Regions from separate parts of the Homo sapiens genome. Here regions 2, 3, 4, 5, 6 and 7 are each linked to region 1. Evidence: promoter capture Hi-C in 16 types of primary human blood cells and fetal thymus (Javierre and others, 2016). All regions are on one chromosome and are shown on one strand. The core of a region is centred on a gene start or on the middle of the fragment in contact, and the rest is flanking DNA. Distances in the headings are between cores, read along the strand shown. Region 1 holds the start of NKD1-AS1 (NKD1 antisense RNA 1). Region 2 has its middle 4.5 kb from the start of LINC02128. Region 3 has its middle 5.6 kb from the start of BRD7. Region 4 has its middle 6.0 kb from the start of LINC02168. Region 5 overlaps CYLD (CYLD lysine 63 deubiquitinase). Region 6 has its middle 54 kb from the start of LINC02178. Region 7 has its middle 17 kb from the start of LINC02178.

Region 1 (2,865 bases), core at 297-2,796:
CACTGGCCTGTCCACTCTCTCAGACCACAATAGCTGACACCTGTTCCTGCCTGTCCAGCAATCCTTCTCCTCCTTCTGATGATAGCATCTGGCTTTCCTCCCCAGAGCTACTCATCCCCCACTCTCAGTCTATCTAGTTTATGGAGACTGATCCCACTCCAGGGTCACACTGCACTCAGTACCCCTACCTGACCCAGCTTGTTTCATCCTGAAGGCCACGTGGCTGGTCCTAGGTCAGTATGAAAGAAGAGTTTATGAAGAAGCTAATGAAGCTAGGCTTCTGGGCCCTCTCACCTACACGGGCCCTTTCCAAGTCAGGATGGGTCTTTGCAAGGTGTTTATGTGGTCATATGTGTTTGTATTTGTAACATTTTCCAAATTAGGCATTTTATCCTCAATCTATTAAGATTGTCATCTAACCATTCTGACATCCTTTGCCTGTGTGAGGTGATACTAGGGGAAATACAGGCATTTCTGGACATGAGCTAAGGAGAGACTGAGTTGGTGAGATATTTATTTTGGTTTGGCCCCAGAAAGCTTCAGGTCCCATAAAACCTAGATCTACCCTGGTCAAGTGACCAGTAAAGTGGTCAATAAAGTGAGTCCAACATGTGCAAGAACCCCTGTGACCTGGGAACTTTCTTCCACCTGACAGGGCTGTGCTCATAGGATGGGAGTGCCCAGAGCTGGGAACTGCCACCCTTGCCCCCTGTGGGGGAGAAGCCACCAGGGGACAGAGGGAGAGATGATGGAGAGGGAGAGAGAGGGGCAGCGAGCGAGACATGTGTGTGAATGTGTGAGTATACGTGTGTGTGTGAGTGTGTGTGTGTGCGTGCATGTGTCCATGACATGGTTTTAGCTCCAGAATCCAAACAGGCCTTTTTAGGCAAGATCTACCCTAGGATTTTTCAATTTCATGAGCCAAAAGTTTAAGTGAGTTTCCAAAAGAACCGAAAGAATCCTGACTTAACAAATCCGTCTCTCTGAGATCCTGCTTTTTAGGAAAAACCACCAGCACCAGCACCACAGCAGTAATTCACTCACCCAGGGCAGTCCCTCTAGGGTGATTTCCAGCTTTTTCACCTGTGGGTGTCTGCCCCTTCCTGAGACCAGAAATGCCACCAGGGACTTCTTCTCCACCATCCTGCCTCCCAGCTGCATTTTACTGCCACTAGATTTTGCTTATGGACCAATTGTAACTGAGGGGAAACAAAAAAGGGGGAAAAGCGGGTAGGGGAGGAAATCCTTCTCAACAAATAACATTCTGGCCTTTTTTTCCTCATCAGAGCATAAGGCTGGTGGCCACTCGGCTTTGACATCTGAACAGGATTGAGACGAAACATCTGTTCAGGGAGGGAGGGGGAAGCCCCGGGAGAGAAGGGGAAAGGGGAGAAAAAGCCTTCTGTGGGCTAAAAATATCACGTCCCTTCCACTCTCCCCCGCCCGCCCCCACCCAAGTTAAAACATGTGATGAAATTCGGCTTTTACAATCTAACCCCGAGCTACTTGAAACTATTAAAGCCTCTCCGGTATCTGACACAAGTCAGAATTTCCACTGTTCCAGCTGAGCTTTTATGAGGAGCAGACTTGAGAGAAACTGCCAAGGTAACAAAGTCCGCTTGTTCTCTGTCACCGCTGCAACTCAGCTTCTGGGGGGACTGTAGGGGAGTGGAGAGTCAGGGCCGCTGACACCCCCCGACAGGACAGGCTCTGAACTGAGGGAGAGGAGCCGGCGGGGCATGGGCACCTGCCCCTCCATCTGGGGGTCCCTGCTGCCTTCCCATGAACTCCTCTTCCTCCCAGCCTTCCTGGGAAGCCACCGCCAGCCCTGTGTATTGAGGAGCCTTGCCCGAGAGTCCCGGGCAATGTCCGTGGCTACTTCCTGAGAAGTCTTGACTCGCTCTCTCTCTCTGTTTCTTGCCCAACTGCTCCTTGAACCCCAAGCTCCAATCACCAGGTATCCCACGGCCTCCTCGGTACCTCTCCTTGGATGTTAAATGGGCATCTTGAACCCAACTGGTCCAAAAACGGGAGGCTTGATGGTCACCCGCCAAAACCTCCACCTCAGAAGTGACACCGCCAAATCCTTAGTTCCTGAAACCAAAAGTCTAAGATGCATCCCTGATCTCTCTCGTTCCCTCAACCCCCTTCTCACCAGCTCCAACCTCCAGCCCCATGGACCTCTCCCCAGCCCCAAGCTCCCAGGCTAGGCCAGCACCATCTCCTCTCGCCTGCGACCCTGCAGTCACCTCCTGGTTTCATTGCCCTCTTCCTCCCTGCCCATGGGCAGTCCCTCCCAGAAGCCAGAATTAACTTCTTAAAACAGAGGTCAGAATCCAGCAGTCACCCACCCAACCATCTGGGCAGAACCACGCAACCTAAGGGCGTGGTCCCACACTTGCCGACCACCCCACTCTCATTCCTGATGCCACATCGGCCTCCTTTTTGTTCTTCCCCAAACACCAAGTTCCCTCCACTCTGGGGTTCTGCTCACTCATAGCTGCTCTCCCCCTACATTCTTCCATGGCTGGCTCCTTCCTGGCATCTGCATCTCAGCTGAAACATCACCTTCTCAGAAAAGCCTCCTCACTCTACCTCTCCCTGGGTTTTACGTCTTAGCAGAGAACCACTACTAGAAACTTCCATGCTCCTTCGCAGATTTATGTATTCATCCCTGCCTCCCTCCTGTGAATGTCGTGACTGCTGGGCCTGCCTACCTTGCTCGTGCCTGTGAACCCAGGGCCCAGCAGAGCCCCTAGCTGCAGCAAATGCCCAGCACATACTGAATGGTGAGGAGTGAGGGGCCAGATTCTGTTCTCAGTCTGCTGTGTGACCCTGGACAGGTCACTTCCCTCTCTGGGCTTC
Region 2 (2,940 bases), core at 244-2,743, 220 kb before region 1:
TTTTGCCAGTGCTCAATGGAAATTGACAAGGTGAGCCTCCCCACCTAATGAACAGATCCAACCCCTGTTCCCGATGAAATGCGCAGCAAGTTTAATCTCAATAAGCATCAAAATAAATTTGTTCCCACGTTTAGAGAGAGCACAGACATGTGGGCAGGAGCCATGGCCTTCATGGATGGGACCCAGGCTGTGGTGTAGGGGTGGCAGTGAAGGTGCTGGGGGCTTCCCCATCAACAGTATCTCAGGTACATCTGCCTAAAAATACCTCCATTGCCCATTCTGTCCACTCCCAGAACAGAAACTGAGGCTCAGATGGCACCTACGTCACAGAGACCCCAACCGCTCAGAGAGCAATTGTCTCCATAACTCCTATTAAATGTGCGCAGCTCTGATTCTTATAAAGTAATGTCAGTTACAGAACAATACCAGCCTGCCAGGCAAGACACATTAGAGGAACAAGGCGGGTGGCGTGGGGGTGGGGGGAGAGACACTCCCACCACCAACCCTCGGAATACAATGCACCAGCTGCACATTAATAAATATGTAATGTTTGATTAGAAATATGTATAGTATTTTTTTCCCTCCCCAAATGCCGGCTCGCCCTCAGGCGGAAGACGGGATCTGGCCCACACTGACGGGTTTCTTTCTTGCTTGCTTTGAAAATACAAACTCAAATGTTTTCCTGTCCCAGCTGTTTCCCATTGTTGCTGTTTATCAGCTTGAAGGATGAACAGTGGAATAAAAAAACACGCTTGCATTTCAAATGTGCCAGTCAGTCACTCCATTGTTCAAAGAAGAAAGCTTAATTGTCTGTGCTGGCAAACTTCTTTTTGGTGAATGTCCAGGTTTTAAGAAAAGCTATTCAGCTGTGCAATTTGTTTAATACATGCAGAGAAAAGCATATAAAATCACACGTTTTTCTGAAAAAAAAATTAAATAAGGGGAAAAGAGGAATTTTGGAAAAGAACGAGTCACACATTGAAGTTTCCCGATTGCCCCCACTGGGCACAGGTTTCTGTGTCCTCTACTGAAGTCTCACTTTTCTCTTGGGATGCTCCAGAAAGTCCCACTCAGTGGTTGAGCTTGGTGCTGACAAACAGCACCGGCTCTGAGCTGACGGCCCAGGCAGCAGAAACTTCAGATCGTGCCGGCCAAAGCTCGGCTTTCCCTGTGATTACACCAACTTGTATTTGAGCAGCTCCTGCTTTCTAGGAGTGAGGTACAGATACAGCCAGCAATGCTTGAGAACTTCTATGGATAAAGTTAGTTATGCCCAAAGCAGAGAGGCCCTGTCACAGCTTACCTGTCAAGGTGGGCACACAGGGATAAGCCTGGGCACCCCCAGCAACCCATCTAATTCAGGGGCAAGTGGAATCCGTGGTTGCCTGGTGAGCCTGCAGGGAGAAGGCGCCCAATCTCAAACACCACCCCTGAACAATCCCACAACCAAATGGCAGAAATGCAGTTTCAAAGGAGCGTGGTCTTCTGCTTGGGCTTGAGTGTTCTGGGCTTACCTTGCAAAACAACCTGGCCTCAAGAGGTTTCCATGTCAAAACTGGATGCTTGGGGATGGGAGAGTGGTTTGCAATATCAGTAGTAAGAGCTTCTGTGTCCCCTCCAGACCCCCAAGTGTCTAAGAAACTGCCCCTAAGATGTAGATGACTGATACCAGATCCATATCTGTGAGCAGAGGACGGAAGAGAAATTGGATGTGCTGGCATTGAGGGGACACCAAGGCACTGGGGGAAAGGGCCCCCAAAGTGTGGTGGAAAAAAGAGGCAGCTTCATAGCTTAGCCAGAGGGTGATGGTATTACCCATCTCAATCACTCTCTTTCTAGATTTTACGAGTAATGTTTTTCGATACGTAAAAATAAATGATAAGGGCGTAAGTATCCCCGCCCAGTTCATAACAATGCCCCCACCAAATTTTTCAACATTCTCCCCCTGCCATGTCCCAGTGTTGTTCACAGTAAATTATTCATAGCTGCCCCATGAGGTCAATGCCCCCACTGCCTCAGTAAAGGAGAGAACAAGAGGCTTAGAGAGGGCCATGGCTTCCCAGCATCCCACAGCTGCTAAGCGGCCCCATGAGGACTTGAACCCAGCCCGCTGAGTTCTGGTCCACTTGGGCCTTGTGAAGAGAATCCCCAGTAGAAAAGGTTAATCAGAACCTTGTCAAGCTTCTCCACATCCCAACCAGCACTCTTCTAAGAGTATTTCCGGACTGGCCAGGGCAGCCTCTCTGGGCTGGGCATCTGATCCTAGGGGTGGCCTCAGGGTGACCCAGGAAGCCTCTGTGTCCGTAAGTGGCTCTCTGTCACACTCTTCACAGGGGTGATCTCAAACATCCTCCCCTCTCTAGAGCTCCTTGGCTCTACTCTTCAACTCTCTCCTTCTGCCTATGACAACCTCAAGTTCCATCTCACAGGGAACACAGAAGGAACAAATGGAAGCACAGTTCATTTCCTGCCACCAAACCTGGGAACACACCTACACCTATGCCTGCTCTTGACCTGTCCTGCCTGTCCTAAGCTAGCCCACCACCTGAACTTCAAGTCCTCATGTTCTCCCAGGGACTTCGCTGCAGCCATTGTCACCTCTTCTCTGCATCTTCAACCTCCCTTTTCCCCTACTGGCCACCACATCACCATGGAAACATGGCTAAGACTCTCCTGACTTAAGAAAAATGAGTACACAAGATGATAGACTCAGGAGGACAACACAGGCCTAGCCAGCTACCTGTCCTCCTGCCCCAATTCCTCAAAAGAAAAGCCATATTTAAAAGACAAAATGAATCTATAACCACATGTGGAAAAACAAGAACTTGTCTGCAATTCCTGGAAGATGGAAAGCAGATGGGACTGGGTTGGCAGGATTGGCGGAAACCACAGCCAACCACTATGGCCAGAGCTACTGAGGAAGTAAGAGAAGATCCAGGG
Region 3 (2,700 bases), core at 183-2,682, 240 kb after region 1:
CCTTACACCTATTTGTATTTTCAATTGGTCTATAACAAACATTAATTACTTAGGCAATAAATAGGTTTAAAACTAAATAACTGAATCAAGAAAAACCTAAAATACACACATATTTTTAAAAACAAAGTCTTTATCAGACACTGACAGAGCGTCAGAAGTGCTTCCCTAGAACCAACAGCTTGAAAGCAGCCAGTCGAGTCCTCTTTCTTTATCTTTTTACCTTTTTTTTTGTTTTTGAGACAGGATCTCACTGTGTTGCCCAGGCTGGAATGCAGTGGCACAATCATAGTTCACTGCAGCCTTCACCTCTTGGTCTCAAGTGATCCTCCTGCCTCAGCCTCCTGAGTAGCTGGGACCACAGGCATGCACCACTACACCTGGCTAATTTTTAATTTTTTATAGAAATGGGGTCTCGCTACGTCACCCAAGCCAGTCTTGAGCAATCCTCCCACCTCAGCCTCCAAAAGTGCTGGGATTACAGGCATGAGTCAGCGCATCTGACTGACTCCTCCTCTTTCTGCAGCCCTGTTTAGATGGAGATAGGGGAGAGACATGTCCAGGTTTCACAGCCAGTCTTTGGCAGAGCCAGGACTATGAAATTAGAGATCTGGGTGACATGGCACAAGCCCACAGCCACAGTCTGATAAGAGTTTATCAAACACATAGTGACTTTCTGTGAAGGGAATTTAATCCTGGGCCCCGTCCGCAGGGCAGTACTCCAAGGAATCATGATGGACCGGGAGCCCGGGCCTGCAGGATCATTTCTGAGCTGCTCATGGTCTGTCCCCAGCCTGGGGCTCCTGGAAAATGCCCAGCTTTCTCCAAGGTGACCATTTCATCTGGTTTATCCCACTTTACAGGGGGAAGTCCACACCCCACAGCCTGTCATTCAAGGCCTCAGTGTTCCCTTCTGTATCTCTGTCTCATCACACCTCCCACTCTCCAGCATCACCTCAGTGGCCTTGCATGCACAAGTCTACTTGTCTGATCCACCCTCCCCCAGCCCTTCCAGTGCTTAGAGGCTCCCTGCAGCCTGGCCGAGCTTTCCTTCCTCTACACACTCTCAGCCCGCCACTGCCCTCACCTGGCTCCAGTGCTCTGTCCTCCCCTGCTGGGTGTCCTACTCTCCTGCTTCTCCTCCTGCCTCCCTCCCCCTCCTCAGTCTCCTCTGCTGCTTCCTCATCCTTTATTCACCTGTTAGATAATATTGAAGCTCTTCAAGGCTCCATCTTCTCTGATCACTCTACTCTCTCCTCCTGGGTGGTCTCATTCACTCCTGAGGTTCCAAAGACATCTCTATGCCAAAAATCTATTTTCAGGTCTCACCTCCCTTCCAAGCCCCAGACACATGCATTCACCTTCCTACTTGGATTCTCCTCTTGGGTTCTGCATAGGCATCCCTAACCCCTCCTAAGTTCTTCCTCCTACATAACTCTTGAATTATCCCATTGCACCATCCCCACATCATCCACGCTAGACCAAGCCACCCCCATCTCCCCTTTGAAGACCACATCACTTCTAAGCTGGTCTCTCTGCCCGGTCTCCTAACCCACTCCAATTCTTCCTTCATTCAGAAGCCAAAGCGCTCTTGTTAAATTGCCAATATGGCCATGCACCCACGTCCACTGCCTTCATGGGCATCCCAAATAAAATCAAGCATCTCTGCCATGCCTTGAAAAGCTCTGCCCAGCCCAGCCTTTCTTCCAGACACAGTCCCCATCATCTCTCTTGCTCCAAACCTGCTCTCCTCTCCTCCCTGACTGCACCCAACTTTCCCTCGCCTTTGCACATGCTGACCTCTCTGCCTGTTTAGTAGATGCAGCTGATGCCCCCTTGGCTCACCTCTCCTGAAGGCACATCCTGCTGGAGGGGCATCACCAGCAGCTGGGAGTGTTGGCCACTCACGGAAGGCAGCCGCACACCTCCCTCAGAGAATTGCCCTGGGACAAACTAGAGTCACCTCTGTAATAGGCGACAATCAGGCAGACCTCGCTGCCCACCATGGGCTACAAAAGGCCAGCCACCTCCCACAGGGTGGGACTGTTCCCTGGACAGTTGATGTTCCCAATCCCCCCTCGCCCCGCCACCACTGTGGCACGGGGCTGAGGCTGGGACCACCTCTTTCTCTGCTTCTACCCACCCCGTCCTGCTTCTCTCCCAGCTTCTCCCCAATTGCCACCCCAACAGATCCACGCCTCAGGTTCCACTTGTAGGGCACCTAACCAAGACTTATCCTCCAGGTTAGGCCTGGATGAGCCCTCAGCCTGGGTCAGAGCACTATCTGGACAGCAGCTTGCTGTTTTCCTTTCTAACCGTTAGCATGGCCATGATTAAATATTTGTCTGTGTTCTCTGTCTAACATGCATCTCACTGTGCTCTCCATAAGGGCAGGGCTGTGTCTATTTTACTCCCACCGTGTTCCTAGCACCCCCCAGCACATAGTAGGCACACAGAAAATATGAACTGAAAGAAGGAAGGAAGGTCCTGATGTTGCCTCTGTCTTATTTGATCAAGGGCTCTGAGGCTAAATGACTTTTGGGGTTGGCAGCCGTGAGTGTCATGGCTTGGGCTCGCTGCCCTCCAGTAAGCAGCTCTGAGACCGTGTGGGCAGAGGCCATGTGGCATGCCTGCGTGGATGGCGGCCATCCACCGCCTCTCTCTTTTCCTCACTCAGAGGCAGCAGCTGGGGCTGCTCCGCCA
Region 4 (2,965 bases), core at 317-2,816, 200 kb before region 1:
GGCATTTGTAAACTGTCATGGCGTTGGTGGGAGTGTCTTTAACATGATGATACTTTGTAATTAGTTCATAATGAGCAGTGAGGACAACCAGAGGTCACTTTTGTCGCCACCTTGGTTTAGGTGGGTTTTGGCCGGCTCCTTTACCACAACCTGTTTTATCTGCAAGGTCTTTGTGACCTGTATTTTGTGCCGACCTCTTAGCTCATCTTGTGACTTAGAATGCCTTAACCTGCTGGGAATGCAGCCCAGTAGGTCTCAGCCTCATTTTACCCAGCCCTTATTCAAGATGGAGCTGCTCTGGCTTAAACGCGTCTGGCACATACAGAGTTAAAAAAAAGAAAAGTTGCCAGATTTGTACAGATCAGGAACTTTTGCTTCTCTTAGAAATTTCTGACTTCGTCTGAAAAATCAGAACATAGGCCAGGTGCGGTGGCTTACGCCTGTAATCCCAGCACTTTGGGAGGCCGAGGCGGGTGGATCACGAGGTCGGGAGTTCAAGACAAGCCTGGCTAAGATGGCGAAACCCTGTCTCTATTAAAAATACAAAAAAATTAGCCAGGCATGGTGGCACTCACTGCTACGCAGGAGGCTGAGGCAGAGAACTGCTTGACCCCGGGAGGTGGAGGTTGCAGTGAGCTGAGATCGCACCACTGCACTCCAGCCTGGGCAGCAGAGCGAGACTCCGTCTCAAAAAAAAAAAAAAAAATCAGAATATACTGGCCTGCTTCTTCCTTTCCTTTACCATATCAGCTCTCCACCAACACTCCAACCTTCTCCCTTCCCTAAGGTACCTGCCTGGCCCCTGTAGGCAAGTGAGCTTGAGAGTCCCAGTCTAGGATCCTTCATTTTACAGATAGAGGGACTGCGGTTCATAGACAGACATCTTGCCAAGGATCATGGAGTGACCAGAGTCCAGTAGCTTGGGTATGACTGGTTTCACAGAGCACCCAGCTCGAACTGGTGGCCCCCAGCGAGGTGGATCGGCCCCTGAGTGGGCACTGTCCCTGCCTGGCTCTAGCCAAGGCCTGGAGGGAAGAGACTGCCCATAGTGAACCAAAGCTCAAGGCTCAAGGGCTCCTAGACAGTGGGGATGAAAATGAGCCAACACCATGCACTGGACGTTTGCCATTGAAAGCAACAGGCTGAACTGGGTAATTCTAGATGATCCAGATGTGGGTGAAGGAAATTCTTCTGTGGCATGCCAAGGAGAAAGGGACTGGAAAAGTCTTCCCGCCCAAAATAGCATGGTGCAAAAAGCACCCAGCTTGGAAATGCCCATGTGAAATGGCCGGTGGCCGCGCAGCTTCCTGAGAATCATTCAGTCTCCCGACAAATATGGGAGGAGGCCACAGTTGGTGCCCCCTGTTCTGGTTGCTGATGAGACAGGGACAATGTGGTTTTCACCCTCTGGGGGACCCACTGCCGAGCTGACAGATGAGTATAAAGCATTGCGCAAATGCAAGGACTCCTGGAGGGGGTGTGGGGACCGTGGGCACCTCGGGCTCACGTAGAAGGAGCTGAGACTTCGTCTCTACTCAGGCAAGTGCCTGGGAATATGGCTTTTGTATAGGGACAGGCTTGACTTCCTCCTGAGTGTGTCCACCTGAGGCAGGAGGTGGCAGGTTGGTGAGGAGGGAGAGGTGGGGATGGTGCAGGCCTAAGGCCTGGAAGAGCACTGGGGAGCCGCTGAGGGACAGGGTGGAATCAGGAGCTAGAGCCCTCTTGGCTGCAGAGTGTACGGCTGAGGCCACCAGCCCTGCCAGACTGTGGAATCCTCACAGTTCAGGAAGCCCAAGGAAGATTGGTGTTTGAGTCACTTAAGGAAGGCCTGGTGTGCATGGCAGGAAGAGGCTCCTCTCCACCCAGGAAAGCCTGCAGAGCTCGGACCAAGCGCCAGCCCCAGGCGCTGGGCCTCCCTAGTCAGAGCCTCGAGCTGCCCTACAATGTCCCAGGGTGAAATGGCCCCCCGTGAACACGGACTTCCCATGCTGGGGTTCTGTTCCAGCTCTGCCTCTAACTCTGCCCGTGGGTGCAGCCCTGCCTCCCTAGGCAGCAGCCTTTAAAGTTGGAGAACTTTAGAAAATTCTCCAACTTTAAAAAGAAAGATTGAGCTGGGACTGGGAGGCTGAGATGGGAGGGTTGCTTGAGCCCAGGTTTTCCAGCCTGGGCAACATAGTGAGACAGACCCTCTTGCTAATGAATTAAAGAAAGAAAAAGAGAGAGAGAGAAAGAGAGGGAGAAGGGGTGGACCCATCTCAATGGCTCCAGTGACTGAGGTCCTTGATGCTAATGGTAGTCCAGACTAGCTTTCTACTTTCTACACTGCTTTCTGGGCTGACTTTCAGTCTTTTTCTCGACCCTGTGCTGAGCCTGGGTTTTATCAAAAAAAGGAGAAAACACACAGGCACATGCACCTTGAGCTGGAGGTGACTACTCCAAGTCACTGAACTTCAACACTACAGAAAGTTTGTCAGATCCCAGAGTGGTGGCTCATGCCTGTAATAGAGCTTCCGGATGCCCAGGCAGGAGGATCACTTGAGGTCAGGAATTCAAGACCAGCCTGGGCAACATAACAAGATCACCTTCTCTACGAAAAATTTTTAAAATTGGCTGGGCATGGTGGTGCATGCCTGTAGTCCCAGATACTTGGGAGGCTGAGGCAGGAGGATCGCTTGAGCCCAGGAGTTCGAGACTAGCTTGGGCAACATAGTGAGATCCTGGTCTCATAAAAAATAAATTCATGAATGTGTCAAAACTCATCTAACTGCTTACTTAAAATATGTGTATGTTACTGTATGTAAATTACACCTCAGTGGAGTTGGTTAAAAAATAATAATGAAAGAAGGAAGGAGTGTAAACTTTGGAAAAGTCTGCAGCTGTCTCTCCTAAAGCTAAAATCCACCAATTCAAGAAGGATCACAGTAGGGTCATGTGTAGTAGCCCCAAACTGTCAGCAATGCCCCTT
Region 5 (2,871 bases), core at 46-2,545, 160 kb before region 1:
GAGCTAAACAAAAGTTGTCGAACTTGACACAAAAGCTTGACCCACACAAGAAAAACTATAAATTGGACTTCATAAAAATAAAAATCTTGTACTCTGTGAAAGACCCTATTAAGAGGATGAAAAGACAAGCTACACATTGGGAAATAAAATGTGCAAACCATATATTGAACAAAGAATTAGTATCTAGAATACATAAAGACTTCTCAAAACTCAACAGTAAAAAAGCACAGGATCCAATGAGAACCTGGGCAAAAGAGATGAGGACACCTTTCACTCAAGAATATATACGAAGGCTGGGTGCAGGGGCTCATGCCTGTAATCCCAGCACTTTGGGAAGCCGAGGCAGGTGGATCACTTGAGGTCAGGAGTTCGAGACCAGCCTGGCCAACATGGTGAAACCCTCTCTCTACTAAGAACACAAAAATTAGCTGGGCTCGGGGGCGCACACCTGTAATCCCAGCTACTTGGGAGGCTGAGGCAGGAGAATCACTTGAACCCAGGAGGTGGAGGTTACAGTGAGCCGAGATCACGCCACTATACTCCAGCCTGGGTGAACAGAGCAAGACTCCATCTCAAAAAAAAAAAAAAGAAAGAAAGAAAAAGAATATATACAGATGACAGTGAGTACACGGAACGATGTTCAACATCAGCAGCCATCAGGTAAATTCAAATCAAAATCACAGTGAAATACAACTACAAATCTCTCTGAATGGCTAAAATTAAAAATAGGGACAACATCAAATGCTGGAAAGGATACAGAGAAACCAGATTACCCATATATTGCCAGTGGTAAAGTAAGAGTACAGTCACTCTGGAAAACAGTTTAGCGGTTTCTTAAGAAACTAAATTTGCAAATATCACCGAATACGCACTTGGACAATTATGTCAAGAAATAAAGATTTATGTGCACTCAGGAAACTACACACAAATATTTATAAAAGCATTATTCATAATAGCCAAAAACTGGAAACAAACCAGATGTCCTTCAACAGCTAAACAGTTAAACAAACTGATACATCCATAATATGGAATATTACTCAGGAATAAACAGGAACAATCCATGGATATATATAAAATAATGTAGATAAATCTCCAGAGAATTATGCTCAGTGAAAAAAGAGCCAGTCTCAAAAGGTTACATACTGTACAACTCCATTTATGTAACATTCTTGAAATGACTGAATTACAGAAATCGACAGCAGATGAGTGGTTGTCAGAGGTTAAGGATGGGGCAGGAGGAAGAGGGAATTTGTGCGGCAGTAAAAGGGCAAGATAAGAGATCTTTGTGGGATGGGAATGTTCTGCTTCTTGATTGTATCAGGGTCAACATTCTGGTTGTGATGTTGCACACGTCTTGTTTTACAACATGTTAATGTTACCGCTGGGAAAAATTGGCTAAAGGGCACACAGGGTCCCTCTCTCTGCATGTGAATCTATAATAATCTGAAATGCTGTAAAGCATATATCTGCAAAAGGGTTTGTATTCAAAATTTATAAATAACTCTCAAAACCCAATCATAAAGAAACAATTAATAATCGGCCAAAGACTTTCACAGATACTAAACCAAAGAAGATATACAGATGACAAATATGCACATGGAAAGATGTTTGATATCACTGGTCACCAATGAAGCGCAGAGTAAAACCACAATTAGATGTTACTAAAATTTAAAAAACTGATCATACCAAGTGTTGGCAAAGATATGGAAGAACTGTATCTCTCATATACTGCTTCTGGGAATGTAAAATAATGCAACCACTTTGGAAACACAGCTTGGAAGGTTTGGGGGTTTTATTTAAGTTAACAGTCACCTATGATATTACCAGCCATTCCACATCTAGGTAAGTACCCAAGTGAAATGAAGGCATATGTCCATACAAAGATTCGTACACAAATTTTCATAGCAGCATTATTCATAATAGCCAAAAACTGAAAAAAACTCAAGTGTCCATCAACAAGTGAATGGATATAGAAACTAATATAACCATATCAACAATAAAAAGGACAACATGGATGAATAAAAAATAATTATGTCGAGTGAAATAAGCCAGACAAAAAAGAATGCATTCTGAGTTATTCCACTTTTGTAAAATCCTTAAAAATGTGAACAAGTGTATACTGATGTAAAGAAGACCAGTGGTTGTCTGAATGTAGGGGGTTGAGAGGACAGGAAGAGGCAGAGGGAGGGATCCCAAGGGACATATTTTGGGGTGATGGATATGTTCACTATCTTGATCGTAGAGATCGTCAAAAAAACAGCATTATACTCCCAACCCCCACAACTAGAACAGAAGACACAGGTTGAACTAGAAAAACCGAAATGTATAATTTTGGGGTGGTGCTAATTGATATGCTTCATCATAACAACTTCAAGAACATGAACATAATGTCAAATTAGATATGTTAGCAGTGTTTTTAACCATTTAGAACAGAAATATAAGAGAGAAACAATTTTATAACAGGTTTAAGATTCCTGCATCTTTCAATCAAAGGTATCCTTCAGAAGCCAACTATTACAAGCAATTGACTAGAAAGAATTCTTTCCTAAGCTTCCCAGCCATTCAACTGCTCTGAAAAGAATCTTTTTTCTTTTTTAAATGCTGTAAATATTAATTTTGTTTCACGGATGAAGGTAATTGGGCAAGAAAAAGAAACTAAGGAACTAAAGGAGACACTTTGACTTTTTTTTCCCCTCAAGAAAAGAGTCCTAATGATGACATGAAAGGCAGATGAAGACTCATTTAAGTAAACTAAATTAATTTTCATTTAAACAACTTTAGTTTTTAAAGTCTATTTGCAAGCTTTATTTTGTTGACAAATAAGTGTAATTTATGTATTATGTTATAAATGCTGGTATCATTCTTAATTAT
Region 6 (2,929 bases), core at 8-2,507, 160 kb after region 1:
GAAATCTCAGGTTGGCTTGGTCACTAGTCACCTGTACCCCAAGATGTGAACACAGAGTTTATGTCTATTTCATGAACCTCTTAAAAATGGGGTGATCTCTACTGACATGTGGGTTATACGGAGATGAATAAACCTATCTCAGCTCAAAGGAACTCAAAGTTGAAAAACAGAGAGGCAGGCGCCAGGCCAAGGGGGGCTCATCCAGGTGAGGCAAATCGGCCAAGGACTGAGAGCTGGTAGGAAGTAGAATGAGGATAGAAGCAGCCTCCAGACTCCAAAGCAGTGCTCCTGTCCTCACCCCCTCTCTGCCACCCCCCAGCGGAAGGCAAGCAGGCCATGTTGCTTCAGCCTCTCTCTTCTCCCCTGGGTCCAGCTTTTACCCTTGAAAGCCTCTTGCATCTAAAGCATGAATTCCATGTTAAATAGGTCAGGCCACCTGCCTTCCAGGCCCAGCTCTCCAACCTGTCAGGCTCGGGCTGAACCATGAGACTGTTTCTCTTCAAAGTGGCCCGGGCCTCTTCTGACCTGCTGAGCTCTCCCCTGTAGCCCTCGTCAGTCTGTAGCTTGAGTGACAGCCAGAGCTGTTTGCAAGAGCACGTGGCAATGTCTCCCTGAGACCACCCACCATATGGATCTCAATCCCTTTTCCCGGGATCTCTCTCCCATCATTGGCATGAGAAACATGGTAGGGTCCTCCCAATTCGTGTCTGAGATCTGTGAGGACAGACAGCAGCCACAGATCCACTGCAGAATGGGCGTGTGGGAAATGCTGTGTGGTATAAGCTGTCCTCGTAGTTATAGAGAACAAAAGTCATCACCAATGTCCTTTATTAAGGGTTTATTCTGTACCAGGCTGTAGGTGTCCCCATTTGCTTCTTATTGTGAGAATTAAATTAGTGATGACAGGTACCTTCATTATCCCCATTTTATTAATGAAGAAACAGAGGTTCAGAGAGGCTAACTGGTTGCCTAATGTCACACAGCTGGTGAAAGCTGGGATTGACACCCCCATTGTCCGGCTGAGGAGTCTCTCAGCTCTTTCAGCGAGCATTGTGTTGTAAACACCTGGGGTCTTTCTCCACAGGAACACCCTAAGTATGGTTTGGGCTCAAGTGGCTGAAGTCTTGTCCCCCACTAGAATGGAAATGTCTTAGGGACAGGGTCTATCACCTCTTCATGGTGAATATCACGCAATGGGGCTTGAGGCGGAGGGATCTATTTGTGCCTGGGACAAAAGGGGGCGCAAGGAGGAGCAGGTCCCCACGGTTCGGCGGGGTCACCGGCTGGGCTGGCTGCCTGGCTTTCCCAAGCCTGAGGTGAGCATAAAAAGGCCAGTACAAGAAAGAGGAGGGAAAAAAAGGAAGAGCAGGAGAAGGAAGAGCCAGGCTGATCGGTGGGGAGTGCCTGCCCCAGATGGCCTGTGCGTACCAGGACTGTGGGGGCTTCCTTCACACACCGTCTGAATTATTCAGACAGGGAGGCCACAGGGGCCCGAGAGGTCTATGATGGTTAGGGGTTTCATGGCCACTTAGGTGGACCAAAAAAGAAAAGAATTGCGTTCCGCCTGCTTATCTCCTAACCTTATAAACTCAGGATTAGCAGATCAAGGGAGGATTTGGCACAGCTGAGGGACGACAGTGGCTTCAGAGAACAGTTTGGGCTCCATCCTTCATAATCAAATGAGCTTAGGTCATTGATAAGTAAATGGCGTTTTGAATCCCTCTAATTGGGCGTGTGGGTCACGCCTGAGCCCAGGCAGCCCAGCCGTCCTGGCAGAGTTAATGAGCCAGAGAGGGGCCTGGGTGTGGATCCCAACAGTGGCCACAAGAAGGAGTGCCAGGGTGTATCCTGGCTTGGGCAGGGGCCCCAGAAGTTAAGAGTAATCGCTTTGGAGCCAGAAGTGATGGATTCAAGCTCCCAGCACTGCCACCAGCTAGCTAGGAAACCTGGCGGGGGCGAGGGGGTGTCCCATAACTGCTGGCACCTCAATTTTCTCAGCCGTAAGATGGGGCCATGGACGTGTTAATAACTACCCTTTATTGAGAACTCCACACTCCATGTGCGGTGCTGTCAGAGGGAGGCATCACTCAACCCAGAGCCTATGCTCCTAAGGACCAGTGGAGACCAGCCTTGGAGGGCATCTGCAGCCTGAAAGGGACAGCGGAGTCCAGAGCAGGAGGCAGGGTGACAGCCGCTTCTCCCCTCCCCGCTAAGTGACCATGCAGACAGCACTGTGCCTTCACTTCCTCACCGGTAAGCGAGTTCTCCCGGGTGCAAGGGCACCACTGCAGGGAAAGCCCCGAGTGATGCCATTAATCAGTGATTGCTGTTACCACCCTTAGTGCTGGATCCTCCTTAGTGATGTGAATTTCCTGTGCCAGTCACCTGCCCGTTTGATATCGGGTCTTATCTCTGCCCTTACGCTCTGCTCTGTATCCAGGAGTGACGTTCCCTGGACTTCTTGGCCACCTGGTTTCTGGGTTGGTTTGGCCAATGGGCAGCACTGTGGAGAGCGAGGGGAGAGAAAAGCTAAAGTGTTTCTCCCCTCACTGTGTTTCCTGTGGTGTCCCCAACACCACTGTGTCAGCTCTCAGCTCCCAGCAGAGAGCCCCCACCAACCTTCAAATTCAGCCTCCTGCTGCACAGCCCTAGCTCTCAAGCTCTCACAACTCCACCTCCTCTCTCTCCTTCCAGCCTCCTGGTAGTAGCAATTTCCCACAGTTGCTAACCTCTGGGCTGTTTTACCTTTCTCTGCTTGGCTTCTCAGCCCTCATGTCTCTTGTATAATCAGTTCCCTCCACTGAATTCTCTCTAATTGAAAGACCCAGCCAGGCGCGGTGGTTCACACCTGTAATCCCAGCACCTAGAGAGGCCGAGGCGGGTGAATCACTTGAGGTCAGGAGTTTGAGACCAGCCTGGCCAACATAGT
Region 7 (2,857 bases), core at 254-2,753, 200 kb after region 1:
ACTAGAGATGGGGTTTCACCATGTTGGCCAGGCTGGTATTGAACTCCTGACCTTGTGATCCGCCCGCCTCAGCCTCCCAAAGTCCTGGGATTACAGGTGTGAGCCACTGCAGCCGGCCATAACAGTAAATTTTGTTACCTATATTTTACCACAATCAAAATAAACAAAGTCAATCAAACAAAAGCAATTTAAAAGGAGAAATTAAAACATTCCCAGATTTTAAAAAAGCTGAGAGAGTTTGTCACTACTAGACTTGGCCTAAAAGAAATGCTAAAGGGAGCCTTTCTGGCTGAAAAGACACTAGACAGTAACTCAAATTCATATGAAGAAATTGGGAATTCTGGTAAAAATAATTACATAGATAAATATAAAAGCCAGTGTAATTATATTTTTGGTTTCTAACTCCACTTTTTGTTTTCTAACTTATTTATAAGACAAATGCCTAAAACAACAATTAAAATTCTATATTAATAGGCAAACAGTGTATAAAGATGTAATTTATGACTTTAAAAGGGAATGGACTGAGGTACATAGGAACAGAGTTTTTGTATGCTATTGAAACTAAGTAGGAATTAATTCCAACTAAGTTTTTATATATTTAGGATGTTAATTGTAATCCCCATGGTAAACATGGGGATAAATACTCATGACCTTGTATTTGCCAATAGAGTCTTAGAAAAGACACCAAAAGTAAAGGAAACAACAACAAAAATACATACATTGAACTTTGTCAACTTTTAAAACTTTTGTGCACCAAAAGACACTATCAAGAGAGTGTGCCAGGTGTGGTGGCTCACGCCTGTAATCTCAAACAGTTTGGGAGGCTGAGGTAGAAGGACTACTTGAGCCCAAGAATTCAAGACCAGCCTGGGCAACATAGTGAGACCCCATCTCTAAAAAAAAAAAAAATTAGCTGGGTGTGGTGGCACATGCCTACAGTCCCAACTACTCAGGAGGCTGAGGCAGGAGGATCTCTTGAGCCCAGGAGGTCGAGGCTGCAGTGAGCCATGATCACGCCATTGTACTCTAGCCTGAGTGACAGAACAAGACCCTGTCTCAAAAAGAAAAAAAAGAGTGAGAGAGTAAAAAGGTAACACACAAAATTGAAGGAAATTCTTGCAAATCATATATCTGATAAGGGATTAGTATCTAGAATATATAAAGAATGCCTAGAACTCAACACACAAGAAAACAAACAACCTAATTCAAAAAAAGGGCAAAGAACTTGAATAGACATTTCTTCAAAGAAGATATGCAAATGAATCTGGGTGTGGTGGCTCAAGCATATAATCCCAGCACTTACAAAAATTAGCCAGGCATGGTGGTACACACCTGTAGTTCCAGCTACTTGGGAGGCTGAGGCAGAAGAATTGCTTGAACCCGGGAGGCAGAGGTTGCAGTGAGCTGAGATTGTGGCACTGCACTCCAGCCTGGGTGACAAAGAGAGACTCTGTCTCAAAAAAAAAAAAAAAAAGATATTCAAATGGCCAATAATCACATGAAAGGATGTTCAACATCATTAATTTTTAGGGCAGTGGAAGTCAAAACCACAATGAGATACCACTTCACACCCACTAGGATGGCTACATTCAAAAAAATAGAAAATAACAAGTATTGGTGAAGATGTAGAGAATATGAAACCCTCAAATTTTGCTGGCAGGAATGTGAAATGTTTTGGTTACTGTGGAAAATAGTTTGGCAGCTCTTCAAAAAGTTAAACATAGAATTACTATATGACATCTATTACGTTCTTAGATACACACCCAACATTGAAATCAAGGATTCAAAAAAGTACTTATATATGCATGTTCATAGCACTGCTATTCACAATAGTCAAGGGGTGGAAACAACCCAAATGTCCATTAACAAGCAAATGGATAAGCAAATTGTGGTATTATACAAGTAATGTTGTTCAGCCATAACAAGGAGCTAAGAACTCACACATGCTACAACATAGGTGAACCTTGAAAGCATTATGTTAAGAGACAGAAGCCAAACACAAAAAAGATCATATATTATATTATTCCATTTATAGGAAATAGCCAGGGTAAGTAATTCCATAGAAATGGAAAGTAGAAAGATGGTTTTTCAGGGGCTAGACTGAGAGGGAAATAGGGAGTCATTGTTTAATGGATACAGAGTTTCCGTTTGGGAAGATGCAAAGATTCCACAGATGGAGGGTGGTGATGATTGCACAACCTTGTGAATGTTCTAAGTGCTACTGAATTGTTTGCTTTAAAATGGTTAACTTATGTTATGTGAATTTCACCTAAAACCCAAAACCTTGAAGAGAGATTTTGTCATCTCAGTTTTCTGATGAGAAATCCAATGTACCAGGAGGCAAGTAATTTGTTCCAGGTCGCACATGCCTTTCTTAGCAGTCAAGGTCAAGGATCACAGCTTCTGAATCTAAGGGCAAGCCATGGTTGGCCTCAACCTCAGGGGAAGTGACAGTAAAATCAGGAGGCTAGGGGAGAGGTGAGACACGATGTGTAGACTTCACCTGGATTTTATAGGCCTGGTGGCCTTGTTTGTTGGTTTGTTTAAAAAAAAAAAAAAAAAAAAGATTTTCCAAGGGCACACTCACCTTTACACATGTATTTTTTGTGCAAGTGCCAAAGTATTGAATGGATTTCGTAAACCCAACCATAAACCTCGGCAATGGCTCCCATAGGAGCTGCCGGCCACCAGCATGGAGAGTCTCATGAGCTGTGGCAAAGCCATGGCCCACCACACCCAGACTCCACCACCCACACCTCCCTCAGGTTACTGTCGCTGTGGGGGCCATAAACTCAGCATTTTATAGCATAGCCTGTTTTTTCCCAAATCAGTCACCAGCCCCATATATTTGCTATGT

Evidence for each region. The method cuts DNA at HindIII sites, captures the fragments that hold promoters and counts their contacts. A CHiCAGO score of 5 or more calls a contact.
Region 2: a fragment that was not itself captured here is called in contact with the fragment with the promoter of NKD1-AS1 in region 1 in 1 of 17 cell types (neutrophils); the score reaches 5.0 in neutrophils.
Region 3: a contact is called between a fragment that was not itself captured here and the fragment with the promoter of NKD1-AS1 in region 1, in 9 of 17 cell types (non-activated CD4 T cells, naive CD4 T cells, total CD8 T cells and 6 more). The highest score is 13.7, in non-activated CD4 T cells.
Region 4: a contact is called between a fragment that was not itself captured here and the fragment with the promoter of NKD1-AS1 in region 1, in 4 of 17 cell types (non-activated CD4 T cells, activated CD4 T cells, neutrophils and 1 more). The highest score is 9.0, in non-activated CD4 T cells.
Region 5: a contact is called between a fragment that was not itself captured here and the fragment with the promoter of NKD1-AS1 in region 1, in 1 of 17 cell types (non-activated CD4 T cells). The highest score is 5.6, in non-activated CD4 T cells.
Region 6: a contact is called between a fragment that was not itself captured here and the fragment with the promoter of NKD1-AS1 in region 1, in 4 of 17 cell types (non-activated CD4 T cells, naive CD8 T cells, total CD8 T cells and 1 more). The highest score is 6.4, in non-activated CD4 T cells.
Region 7: a fragment that was not itself captured here is called in contact with the fragment with the promoter of NKD1-AS1 in region 1 in 6 of 17 cell types (naive CD4 T cells, total CD4 T cells, naive CD8 T cells and 3 more); the score reaches 9.5 in naive CD4 T cells.

Annotation. Positions count from the first base shown.
Region 1 is chr16:50,612,331-50,615,195 of GRCh38, reverse strand. It overlaps NKD1-AS1 (NKD1 antisense RNA 1), which reads left to right and starts at 1,546. Exons shown (of 3, transcript XR_007065197.1): 1 at 1,546-1,605. All of the region lies in intron 4 of NKD1 (NKD inhibitor of Wnt signaling pathway 1), which reads right to left. The HindIII fragment of the contact is 2,641 bases long and covers 540-2,865 here.
Region 2 is chr16:50,834,049-50,836,988 of GRCh38, reverse strand. No RefSeq gene overlaps it. Among named protein-coding and RNA genes, the nearest start is that of LINC02128, 4.5 kb to the left of the region's middle. RefSeq lists an enhancer at 1-1,208. The HindIII fragment of the contact is 1,380 bases long and covers 804-2,183 here.
Region 3 is chr16:50,373,246-50,375,945 of GRCh38, reverse strand. No RefSeq gene overlaps it. Among named protein-coding and RNA genes, the nearest start is that of BRD7, 5.6 kb to the right of the region's middle. RefSeq lists a silencer at 914-1,208. The HindIII fragment of the contact is 5,152 bases long and covers 1-2,700 here.
Region 4 is chr16:50,811,238-50,814,202 of GRCh38, reverse strand. No RefSeq gene overlaps it. Among named protein-coding and RNA genes, the nearest start is that of LINC02168, 6.0 kb to the right of the region's middle. The HindIII fragment of the contact is 5,044 bases long and covers 1-2,965 here.
Region 5 is chr16:50,768,171-50,771,041 of GRCh38, reverse strand. All of the region lies in intron 5 of CYLD (CYLD lysine 63 deubiquitinase), which reads right to left. Among named protein-coding and RNA genes, the nearest start is that of CYLD-AS1, 27 kb to the right of the region's middle. The HindIII fragment of the contact is 2,515 bases long and covers 38-2,552 here.
Region 6 is chr16:50,447,544-50,450,472 of GRCh38, reverse strand. No RefSeq gene overlaps it. Among named protein-coding and RNA genes, the nearest start is that of LINC02178, 54 kb to the right of the region's middle. RefSeq lists a silencer at 1,601-1,895. The HindIII fragment of the contact is 8,671 bases long and covers 1-2,929 here.
Region 7 is chr16:50,410,567-50,413,423 of GRCh38, reverse strand. No RefSeq gene overlaps it. Among named protein-coding and RNA genes, the nearest start is that of LINC02178, 17 kb to the right of the region's middle. The HindIII fragment of the contact is 4,017 bases long and covers 1-2,857 here.